Linked DNA regions of Homo sapiens: all the other regions are linked to region 2. Evidence: promoter capture Hi-C in 16 types of primary human blood cells and fetal thymus (Javierre and others, 2016). All regions are on one chromosome and are shown on one strand. Each heading gives the region's core, a stretch centred on a gene start or on the middle of the fragment in contact. The rest is flanking DNA. Distances are from core to core; before and after follow the strand shown. Region 1 holds the start of EPHA8 (EPH receptor A8). Region 2 holds the start of WNT4 (Wnt family member 4). Region 3 overlaps EPHA8 (EPH receptor A8). Region 4 overlaps ZBTB40 (zinc finger and BTB domain containing 40).

Region 1 (2,700 bases), core at 190-2,689, 420 kb before region 2:
GCAGATGTGTGATCTGTCTGGGCGTGGAAGAGCAGCACCAGCTCCGGAGTTCGCTTACACCTGGAAGTTCATCTTGGCAGGGTGAGGACCCAGCTCTGGTCCCTGGACATCAGCCCTGGGAGCCTGCACAGAGACGCTCTGGCTTCCTTGGGGCAGAGCTGTGGGAACAGAGGAGGGTCAGGGCAGGGGTTGGGGTGTGGGGAGTGGGACCCAGGGAAACCTCCTGAGCTGGATGGAGCTGGGGTCTCCAGGGAGCTAACGGGTGTGTGGGTGGCAGGCTTAGGTGCTCCCTCTCAGCTCTTCTTGTGCCCCCACCACCAGAAGTCATTTCCCAGACCTTTTTGGTCCCAACGACTCAGTGCACCTCCCCACCCCAATCCTTCCTCCCACACAGGGCCCCAGAGTGACCCTGCCATCCCAGCCTTCTCTGACAAGACTTTGCTCTCCGGGGCCTGCCTGCCTCAATCTCTCTGTGGCCTCCCCATCCCCCAGCCCTCTCCTCCCCAAGCCGCTCCCGCTGCCCACGAAGCTGCCTCTCCTCCAGCTGGAACTCCCCTGCCCTCCCTTCTTCTCCCCAGCCCGTCGCCAGACTGTGGCCCTCGGGCCCTGACCCCTCTCCCAGACTCTCATTCCGCACCCCTCCTTCCTGCCTCCCCTCAAAGCCAGTCCTGCTCTCCGGGGTCCCGTTTCTCAGCGCCTGGCTCCTATCTCTCAATGCTGTCCCCACCCCCTTTGCCTTCTGCCCTCTGAACCTCCTCCCCCATTCTCCTGTCCCTCCAACCCCAGTGCCTACCCCCCTGTCCTCTGTCCCCAACCCTGTTCCTTGCCCTACCTCACTGTACCCTCTCCTCCTTACCTCTTCTCTTGTCTTCTGTCCAGTCCTGTCCCCTTGTCCCCGGCGTCCGACCCTCAGTATTCTGTCCCCAGCTGCACATCCCTCAGTCCTGTCTCCTGTCCTTTCCCACTGTCCCCCAGTCCCCGGTACCTGTCCGTCTTCCTCAAGCTCGCGGGTTCCCATCTCCACCGCTCTGTCCCTTAATCCCGGGTCTCTTCCGCGGTGCCACCCCGCCCCCCGGGCCGAGGGATCCCGGCCGCCTTGGAGCTCAGGGTCCATGCAAAGGAAGTTGAGCCGCAGGCAGCGCGCGCCGCGCCCCGCGCCCCTCGGCCGCCCCTGCCCCGCCCCGCCGCCGCCGCTCACCTTCGCCGCGCGCCGCGGACACGCAGGTGGCCGCCGCCGCCGCGGCCGTGACGACCCAGAGCGCAGGGGGCAGGCGGCCCCGGGCGGGGGCCATGGCCGGGCCGGGCCGGGCGGGCGGGGGCGCCACGCACCCTCGGGCTTGGCCGCTGCGGCCCGCGCGTCGGGAGGGAGCGCGCTCCCTCGCTCTCCGCACACCCGGCCGGGCGCACACCCCGGCGCACACGCGGCTCCCAGCGCACACGCGGGCACCCGCGCCCGCCGCCGCCGCCGCCGCCCCGGGCGGGGGCCGGCCCGTCACGGCGCCGAGCCAATCAGCACCGAGGCGGGGGGGTGGGGGACACGGAGCCCGCACCGCGGCCACCCGGCCCGCGGCCACCGCCGCCGCACGTGCGCACGCCCACACTCCCCCGGCGGGCACCTTCGGGGGCGCGCCCCGCGCTGCGCACTTGGACTCAGGGCTCAGGGCCCCAGTGCGCGAAGCCACCATCGGGACGTCCCGGCGACACCAGGACCAGACCCACCCAGGGATTCCCTCTGTGGACACACGCGCGGGCCGCACATCCACCGCATGCTCGCTCCTGCCCGCATGACCCCAACACCGAGTGCTTCGCGTGGTGACACACTCCGATGGATACACACTAGTTCATGGGCAGAGGCTCAGAGATGGGCTCAGCGGCAAACTCAGAGGCACTTTTAGGTGAAAAACCAAAAAAACACCAAAACCAAAACTCTCTCCCTTTCCCCACCCCAACAACTTGGCATTTAGGGACCACGGGATTTTAAGGAGGCCTTAGATTGCAGTGGTCAGGAGGGCAGGCTCAGGGACCAGGAAGACAAGTGTCCTGCTGTGTGGCCTTAGGCAAGTTTCTTAAGCTCTCTGAGTCTAAAACTTCATGTCTGTAAAACAAGAATACCAGTATCGATATCCTAGGGTGGCGTGAAAGGGCCCAGGTGGAACTCCTGGCAGACGGCCGGGCACACAGCCAGGTGGCCGGTCATGGGAGCTGTTATCCAGTGAGGGGGACTATCATTCCCTGCTTTTCCCTCCCCTGACCTTCCCTGTCTCCAGTTCCATCCCCCAGGACTAGGGGTCTCATCCAGGGATGGCTTTGGGCTGTGAGGGGAGGACAGGGATATAGGGCTGCATCCTGGGGCCTGCTCTGCCACCCTCAAGTCCCTCACACACCTGGTGGGCCAAGCAGTCCGAGAAGCAGGCAAGAGACCTGCAGCCTCCTGAGAGGGTGGATGCCCACGGGAGCAAGTGCCTGATTGCTTCCCACTGCCGCCTGGCACAGACCATCGTCCAGTCCCCTCTTCCTTCGTTCCCAGCTCTCATGGTCACTGGGGGGTGAGGAGAATTGGAGCCATGGCTGGAAGTTACATAGGATGAGAAAGGCCATTTGGGGAACATGTGCCCTGAGTCAGACCCTGCTCTAGGGGCTTTATAAACTCGCTCCAGTTTAAGCCTCACACAGCCTTGCAGGGCTGGCACACCTAAGGAA
Region 2 (2,700 bases), core at 16-2,515:
GTCCTTGCCTCTGTTCCCAACCCCTAGGGAGGTGGGACAGGTGCCTCCCTTTCCGGGCCTTAGTTTTACTGTTTAGATAAGAGGTCCCTCTACCTGTGAGCAGCTGGGGGATGCAGCCTGGAGGATGAGTAGCACACAGAATCAGATCAGTGACCTGAGAGGGTGTGGCGTGGACTTGGGCAGACAATTCTTAGGGGTTACAGTGATGTGGAATTGAGCTCTCTGGACTAGCCAAGCACAGGCTGTTGCAGCCCATTCCATTCCATTCATTTATTCCTTCCACAAACATGGCAGGCACCGCCCTGTGCCCAAAACAAACAAGAGGCTGAATCTGCCTAGTATGGGAGGATAAATCGAACAAGCACATAGAAAACCAAATGCAAAGTAAGACTTGGTGAGTGAGCCAAGAGAGCTTCCCTAAACTCCTCCTGTCCTCCCAATCACAGCGTCTTAAGCCCACTTCCCGGATGAGAAAACGGAGGCTCAGAGTCAAGACCCTGCTGCCTGGGGCGCGCCCAGACCTTGTGGCTAGCCAGAAGCGAGGTTTCGGATTCCCACAGTCTCGGGCCACTGTCCCAAGCTGCCCAAAGCTGGGGAGGCCCCGTCCAGCTCCCGGAAGGCTGTAGGGAGGTGAGCGCCAGGGAGGGGCTGGGCCGCAGGACGCGGGGGCCAGGAGGCAGGGAGGGGCCGGGCGGGGGGCGGTCGGGAGACATCCAGCGCCCCGATGTGCAGCCCCAGGCACCCGGAGCGCCAGCGCCTGGGTGCGCGCGAGTGGTAGCCGCGCTCCGGTGGGTCCGCCGCGGTCGGACCGGGGTCTGGGCTCCAGGCGCCGGCGGGGGGCGGTGGGGGGGGTAGGGGGACAGCGAGGGCCGCGCTGCAGTGCCCGCAGCGGCGGGTTGGGGGAGCTGTGCCCGCCTGTCCCCTAGGCCCGGGCGGCGGCCGGGCAGCTGGGTCGCCGCGCCTCTAGCCGGGCCGGGCTCGGCGGCGCGCAGCCAGGCGTGCCTGGAGCGGGCTCGGGCCCCAAGTCCTCCGGAGCGCCCAGCCGGGGAGGCCCCGGGAGCAGCCCAGTCCCGCGGGCTAAGGCGGCAGCCGCCGCCGCTCCGGCCCGCCCCCGGGGGGGTGTCCCGGGCCGCTGGGCCCGCCCAGGTAACCCCATCCTCGGCCCGCCCCCGGCCCGCCCCCCCGGCCGCCCGCCCGCCCGCCCGCCTCCGCCGCCGCCGCCGCCGCCGCCGCCGCCGCATCCCGGCTCTGGGGCGGCGCTGACAGTCTGGTCCGCGCCGGGCAGCGGGCGCAGCAGCGGGCAGGCTGCCGGCAGGCACACGGAGGCAGAGCCCCGCCGCGCGCGCCCCGGCCCGCCCGCGGGCGCCCACCTGCAGCCCCGACGGGAGGCCCCCCGCGGCCGCAGCCGCTGCCCCGGGCCGGGCGCCCGCGGCGGCACCATGAGTCCCCGCTCGTGCCTGCGTTCGCTGCGCCTCCTCGTCTTCGCCGTCTTCTCAGCCGCCGCGAGCAACTGGCTGTAAGTCTGGCCGGGGCCGAGCGGGGCGGGGCGGGGCGGGGCAGGCCCCGGGGGCAGCGGCCGGTGCCAGGCGGCGCGGGGCAGCGGGCGCGGGGCAGCCCGGCAGGTGTCTCGGCCGCGGGACCGGAGGCTCGCTCGCTCCGCTGCCGCCGCCACGGCCCGAACGTCCCTCTGCACACCCGGGGTCCCCTCCTGCCCGGGTCCGGCTCCCTGCCCAGAGGCGTCAGGGGTGGCTGTGGCGGCGTCCGCACCGGTAGGCGGCTCGGGGCTCTCGAGGGCGCCAGGGGTGCGAGCGCGGGGCGGTGGCCCGGGAGGGGCGCCGGACGCGGGTTGCAGTCCAGCCGGGCTGACAGGTCGCTGAGGAAGCCCATTGCAGGGAAGGGCTCCGGGACATAATAGCAGGTTAATCCCGAGAAGTCCGGAGCGAGCTCCCAGCGCCGAGCTGCGCCGAGCTGCGCCGCGCTGCGGGCTGGGCTGGAGGCGTGCAGGGACCTGTTTCTGCTTGGGGGGCGGGAGCCGGAGACAGAAGGAAGGGACCAGGACGCCTGGTCTCCCAGGGCCCGGGGCTGGCGCTGGCGCTGGCCGGGCCTTGGTTTTTCCCCGGGGCAGGAAGAAACTCCGTCCAGACCTTAAAGAAGACAACGGCCCCCCAGCTCCCCGTGTCTAGCCTAAGGAGGAAGGGGTGGTAACCGCTGGTGACCTGTCTGTTTCTCCTTGACTGGATCTGCGCTCAGGGCGCTCCCTGGGTAGGGGCGGAAGGTTTGCTGCAGGGAGGGAGACTAAAGGGATGAGCTCCAGTGAGTGGGTGGACAGGGAGCAAGCGGACCCGCGCTCCTTTCATCCCCGCTCAGGGACAGTTCCCCATGCCCCGCGCTTAACCCTGGCCCCAGTTCCTCCTGCCCAGAGCTCTGCCACCATCCGCTGTGGGCAGCCAGTGGGGAGCCAAGCTCCAATATTGATCTGAAAAGCATGGGGTGGGAAGGGGGATCGCCAACAGTGTAGCTGGGGTTTCCATGGAGACAGGGAGAGAGGAAAAAATTCTCTCTGCATCAAGACCAAAGAACAAATATCTCCCATGAAATTGCCCCGAGTGTCCAATGGCTGTTGCTATGAGGTCATTGTGGCCAGCCAGAGCCCTCCAGGCTGGAAGGAGTGTGTTCGTTGGGGTCAGAGCCACCCAGGGC
Region 3 (2,713 bases), core at 152-2,651, 450 kb before region 2:
GGAGGGCATACCTGGGACAGTTCTGGATGCTGAGGGAAGGGGGTGAGCTGAGCCCCAAGTATTCTCCCAGTCACACTTGGTTGCCCGCCCACCCCTCCCTCCTTGACGGCGTCACCCATGCCTTTCTTCATGCATCTCTCCCTCCTGGCTCAGGTGCGGTCAGCCCTGTGGGGAGGCTGCTAGGAGGTGTCAGACACAGCCACGCCACAGCCAAACAGAGGGAACTGCCCTGTCCTCCCTGCCCCTCCAGCCCTCAGGCCTCCTCCTCCCCTCTGCTCACCCCGAGTTCTGACTCTCTGCCCTATGTGACTAAGTCTTCCCTCATGTCTGGGCATCCCCAGCACAACCGGGAGCTCCCTGGGGGCAGGGACTGCACACAGTAGGTGCCCAATAAATGCTGCTGAGGATTCTGGCATGAGAAATTAAGAAGCAGCTCCAGAGTTGCACTGGAAGGGTGTGGTCCAGGGGAAAGCCCACCAGTCTGGGAGCCAGGCGTGGGTTCGGGACTTGGCTCCCTCTCTTGCTAGCTGGGACCCTGGGTGAGTCACTTGCTGTCTGCGGACACCAGGTCCCCTTCTATAAAGTGAAGCTAGTGAGCACCACTTGCCAGGGGGAGGGGAGGATTCGATGAGGCCACTGTTTGCAAGGGACACACAGGGTGTGTCTCTTAAAAACCAAGGCAGGAGGTGCTGTGGGATGGGGGCAGACAGAGTGAGACCAGGGCCCAGAGCGGGAGGGGAATGGGGTTCGCGTCCGAGAGGGCTCCAGGGAGGAGTTGGTTGTAGAGAAGTGGTGATGGTGAGGCAGGAGGGGCAGGTGGTCTTTGAGCACAGTCCTCCACATTTGCTTAGAGCTGTCGCTTGATCCTCTAGGACTCCTGAGTGCCTATCACATGCTGGGCACGGGGCTAGGAGCCGGGAACTCTGCAGTGCCCAAGACATCCCTCTAGGAGCTTCTGTCCCAGGAAAGGAGACAGGGCGTCCAATAAACAGGAGAATGGGGGTTCTTTTGGTGCTGGGAAAGGTAGGAAGGGGTGCTGTCTGTGATGGAGAAGACCACTGCAGGGCCCGGAAGGGCACTGGCACGTTTCAGCTGAGGTGGTCGGGGGAGCTTCCAGGGCAGAGGAGCCAGGCATAGGAATGTCAGGGGAAGAGTGAGTCATTCCGAAGGAGAAGCCAGGCCACGGCCTAGCAGCAGGGAAAGACCCAGTGTGTTCAAGGAGGGGGCACCGGAGACCATCATGGCCAGAAGAGAGTGAGCCAGGGAAAGAGGTGCTCTGGAGAGGCAGGCAGGGGTGAAGCTGTGTGGGTCCACAGGCCATGAGAATGTCTGAATTGCATGTGCGCTCAGCCTAGGCTGTGAAGGGCTTTGAGGACAGCTTGTTCTCATGTATTTTCATCTAAAAAACTTGGGGGGCGGTGGTGCTGGGCATGGTGGCTCATGCCTGTAATCCCAGTACTGTGGGAGGCTGAGGCAGGAGGATCACTTGAGCCCAGGAGTTTCAGATCAGCCTGGGAAATATAGGGAGACCCCATCTCTACAAAAAAAAAAAAATCACTGGGCATGGTGGTGTGTGCCCTTGGTCAGCTACTTGGGAGGCTGAGGTGGGAGGATCACTTGGGCTCCGGAGATCAAGACTGCAGTGAGCCGTGATTGTGCCACCACACTCCAGCATGGGTGACAGATAGAGACATTGTCTCAAAAAAAATTTTTTTTGTAGAGATGGGGTCTTGCCATGTTGCCCAGGCTGATCTCAAACTCCTGGCCTCAAGTGATCCTCCCGCCTTGGCCTCCCAAAATGCTGGGATTACAGGCGTGAGCCACCACACCCAGCCCTCACTTCTATTTTTAAAGCTCACTCAGGACTGGTGTGGAGAATGTCTTGTGGGGGTGAGGCAAGAGGGGTCTCCTGTGGTGGTCCAGGCATGGACTCGTGGGGGGTGGAAGTCAGTTGGTCATTTTGAAGGGAGGTCCCTGGGGCTTTAGGGGGGGATGGATGTGACATGCATGAGAGTCAAGGATGACAGCTTGGGTCTGGAGGTGCCATGTCCTAGGGCGGGGCAGGTGCAGGTGTGGCAGGGTTGTTTGTTTTTCACATAACCGAATGGAGACAGGAGTGGGCAGCTGGGTCCTAGGGGAGAGGTCTTCGCTGGTGACCGCGAGTTGGGGGTTGTTAGCACAAAGGTGGAATTCAAAGTCATGGGCCCTGAAACAGCCGCCCAGAAAAGATGGATCTGGGCACACAGGAAAGAGAGGAGGGCCCAGGACATTCCCAGGGACCCATGGCCTTTAGAGGCCATTTAAAGGAGGTGGGGCTACAAAGACAGAGAGGGACAGGCCACACAGGTCAATGGAAAATGGGCGTGGGCTGGGACACACGAGCAAGAGAAAAGTGTTTCCAGGAGGAGGAAATGAAAGGGGGAAGAGGCGCCCATGGATGTGGCCACGCAGGGCTGCTGATTTCTGTGAAGAGGTGAGGAAAGACATGGAGAAGTCCCGCAGAGGAGAGGAAGAAGTAGATACGCCAGGCACGGACAGAGAGGGTCGTATGGGAAGAGAAATGGTCTGGTGACCGGAGGGGAAGGCAGGTTCAAGGCAGGGTCTAGTTTCCTCTTTAATGTTGGGGCATCCCGGATGCTGCCTGAATGCTGTGAACTTCTCTTGCTCTCCCCTCCACTTGGGACCAGCCTGCCAGGGGCCTCAGGTGCCTAGA
Region 4 (2,847 bases), core at 179-2,678, 370 kb before region 2:
TTATCAGAAACTAGGAGTCTCCCAAAGACCTTTTCTGGATCTTAATACTAAAAGCTTGAAAAGCTATAGGATTTGGTCGTCGGTGTGTCTGTCTTGAAAATCAGAATAAGTTTTCATAATATATAATTGTCTCAATGTCTGGAAGTAATTCTGCATGATCAGTGGCTTCATATTTTTAGATACTTAGATGTACCCATTTAAACGTCATTTTCTTTCACAAAGAAACTCAGCGTTTTAAAGAAGGTTCAAATAGAAGCTTTAAAGAGTCCAAGAATATTATTTCAAAGCCGTCGTCCTCTTTCAGAATGTTAGAGCTATCAGCAGAAAGAGTCGGTACACTGAGAAAATAAAGCTAAACCATCCACAGATGGCCAAACGGAATTTTCATTTTGGAAGATATTTTATTTCTGCTCTTTTCAAGTCTATCTAAATAAACCTGATGTCCCTGGAGGCAGGCATGAGACTAATTAGTGAGGCTAAAACTGATCAACTGCAGAAGCCCCATCTCTGAAGTTACGGCGTGCTGGAGAGAGTCTAACAGATGAGTCTTTCCTCTGAAGCCCCACAGAAATGTGTGCCATCTTCTTCCCATCTGAGTCAGACCAACATGTGGCTGTCACCTGCACAGAGAGAGTTAGAAACCCGCCCTTCTGCACACCTTCCACACCTACCTGAATCAAAAGGGCACTACATTTGAATCTGTAGTTTAATTTCATGTTCCTTTCTTGTTCTTCCCCACTCAGGATGCAAATGATCCTGGGCTGGACACCCATGAGTTCCCCCAGTCCCCACTTGGTATTCCTGGGATGCTGGCCACATTGTGTGAAGGCTTACAGAAAATGAGCTGGCACTATTTGCTACCCAATATGGGCAAAAGCTTTGTTTTATCTATGTTTATCTTGGCTCTTTCTAGAAGCCAGAATAGAACATGTAATAAGACCAGTTTTACTTTCCTTCATCTGAGAGAAGCTGCTTCTTAGAACAGGTAAGAGAACAGTATCATGGCTCCAGGGGATACCAGGTTTAGATAAATGGAATAAATTGGTTTGAGTCATAGGAAGCTGGGTTCAAATCCTGACATCATCTCCTCCCTGCCAGAGCATTTTAGACAGGTAACTTAACCCTTTGGGGCCTGAGAACCCTTGTCTATAAAATGTGATAACATCACCTGCCATGTAGAGCTGGAAGGATTAAAAGAGCAAACGTGTTAGGAAGCATTAGCCTAGCAAGGGGTACAGATATTGGTTCTGGCCAGGCACAGTGGCTCACGCCTGTAATCCCAGCACTCTGGCAAAGCTGAGATGGGTGAATCACTTGAGGCCAGGAGTTCGAGACCAGCCTGGCCAACATGGCGAAACCCCGTCTCCACTAAAAATACAAAAAATTAGCAGGGCACGGTGGTGCGCACCTGTAATCCCAGTTACTTGGGAGGCTGAGGCAGGAGAATCGCTTGAACCCGGAAGGCAGAGGTTGCCATGAGCCAAGATCGTGCCACTGCACTGCAGCCTGGGCGACAGAGCAAGACTCTGTCTCAAAAGAGAAAAAGGAAAAAAAAAGAAGGAAAAACAACCCAACCAACTATTGGTTCCTCTCTTAGGAATGAAGACAGTCCCAGGCAACAACTGTAAAACTCTCTGGCATTTCGCTTTTTATTCCCACCACACCTCTTTCACAGTCTCTGCCAGGTGCTCCTCCTCCGAGGTAAAGAGCTTGTACTCAATCTTCTGTTGGATGGCCTCCAAGATCAACTGGTTATGCCTCAGGATTGTTTCTAAAGTGGCATGTTCTGGGGTGGTCACTGAAAAAAAGGGGGATCAAAAACTCATTAGGCAAACAATGAGCACCATTTTTTCCTACACCCTTCCTCCACTCAACTCTTCATAATGAAAATGCATTTCCCCTATCTCCTATCTGAGGTTGGCAGTGGGGAAAACGGCAAATAGCACTGTAATCAGAGTATAATAATGAATGTAAGCTTAAGATAATTACTGGATCTATTTTTTAAAAGGTTTACAAACTCTTGTGTCCTTGAACAAAACTGCCAGTCCTTACTTCTAATAGTAGGGATGTAGGTGACTACCGTTAAGAGAGCTCTTCCTATTTTCTAGGAAGACTGACAGTCATCTCTAGTGGGGGCAAAACCCCCCCAGAGGGCAGGTAACTTACCTGCCCGGAAGAAAGCATCGGCACCAGGCTCCCTTCGTATTTCCTCCATGAGCAGGTCCAATGGACAGGTCTTTGTCTCCTGAACCACCAGCAGCAGTTGCCAAATGGCTGTGGCAGAGAGAGTCTGCTTTTCTAGAACTGCTGATATCAGAGAATTGAAACCACCTGAACCAGAGTCACGTTTCACAAGCTTCTCCATGACCTTCAAGATGTAACACAAACACTCACGTAAGAGACTCTCCAGCCACTAGCCCAGCTGCAGAGCTGCAAGTCTAGATATTGGGTTACAGTGAATATGTTTGGGGAAGGAGTTTTTCAACATCCTCACCTCTCAGTCTGAGAGATTTCTTATACATGACAAAGTTCTTCATTTCTCCTTTTGAATGCCTTTCCTTATTACCACAGAAATTAGAACTATTCTATTTGTTATTCCACCTTAGAAACTGAGATACCTTCTATTTCTCCTCTACTTAGCAATTCTCAACATGGCTACATATGTATATTTACAGAAAATATAAATGTGTGTGTGTATTCATATTTTTTCCTTCTTTCTCATTTTACCCTCCCCTCCCTCTGTTTCTCTCCCTCTCTTACCTCTCTTTCTCCAGGGGCTAAACTTGTCATGTGTGAGATCATCTTTAATAAAATCTGGTTGTCTGTGAAAATCTCAGAGAGGTTTTC

The links. The method cuts DNA at HindIII sites, captures the fragments that hold promoters and counts their contacts. A CHiCAGO score of 5 or more calls a contact.
Region 1: a contact is called between the fragment with the promoter of EPHA8 here and the fragment with the promoter of WNT4 in region 2, in 3 of 17 cell types (erythroblasts, total CD4 T cells and M1 macrophages). The highest score is 7.6, in erythroblasts.
Region 3: a fragment that was not itself captured here is called in contact with the fragment with the promoter of WNT4 in region 2 in 1 of 17 cell types (M2 macrophages); the score reaches 5.5 in M2 macrophages.
Region 4: a fragment that was not itself captured here is called in contact with the fragment with the promoter of WNT4 in region 2 in 1 of 17 cell types (endothelial precursors); the score reaches 5.7 in endothelial precursors.

Annotation. Positions count from the first base shown.
Region 1 is chr1:22,562,228-22,564,927 of GRCh38, reverse strand. EPHA8 (EPH receptor A8) reads right to left here and starts at 1,439. Exons shown (of 17, transcript NM_020526.5): 1 at 1,199-1,439. The coding sequence starts at 1,292. RefSeq lists an enhancer at 401-901. The HindIII fragment of the contact is 15,431 bases long and covers 1-2,700 here.
Region 2 is chr1:22,141,662-22,144,361 of GRCh38, reverse strand. It overlaps WNT4 (Wnt family member 4), which reads left to right and starts at 1,265. Exons shown (of 5, transcript NM_030761.5): 1 at 1,265-1,516. The coding sequence starts at 1,440. The region is part of intron 1 of LOC105376845 (a long non-coding RNA gene); the gene reads right to left. RefSeq lists silencers at 846-1,175, 1,738-1,797. The HindIII fragment of the contact is 11,467 bases long and covers 1-2,700 here.
Region 3 is chr1:22,590,230-22,592,942 of GRCh38, reverse strand. All of the region lies in intron 5 of EPHA8 (EPH receptor A8), which reads right to left. Among named protein-coding and RNA genes, the nearest start is that of EPHA8, 28 kb to the right of the region's middle. The HindIII fragment of the contact is 6,999 bases long and covers 1-2,713 here.
Region 4 is chr1:22,508,051-22,510,897 of GRCh38, reverse strand. It overlaps ZBTB40 (zinc finger and BTB domain containing 40), which reads right to left. Exons shown (of 18, transcript NM_014870.4): 7 at 2,761-2,847; 8 at 2,167-2,368; 9 at 1,665-1,798. Among named protein-coding and RNA genes, the nearest start is that of EPHA8, 54 kb to the left of the region's middle. The HindIII fragment of the contact is 1,098 bases long and covers 880-1,977 here.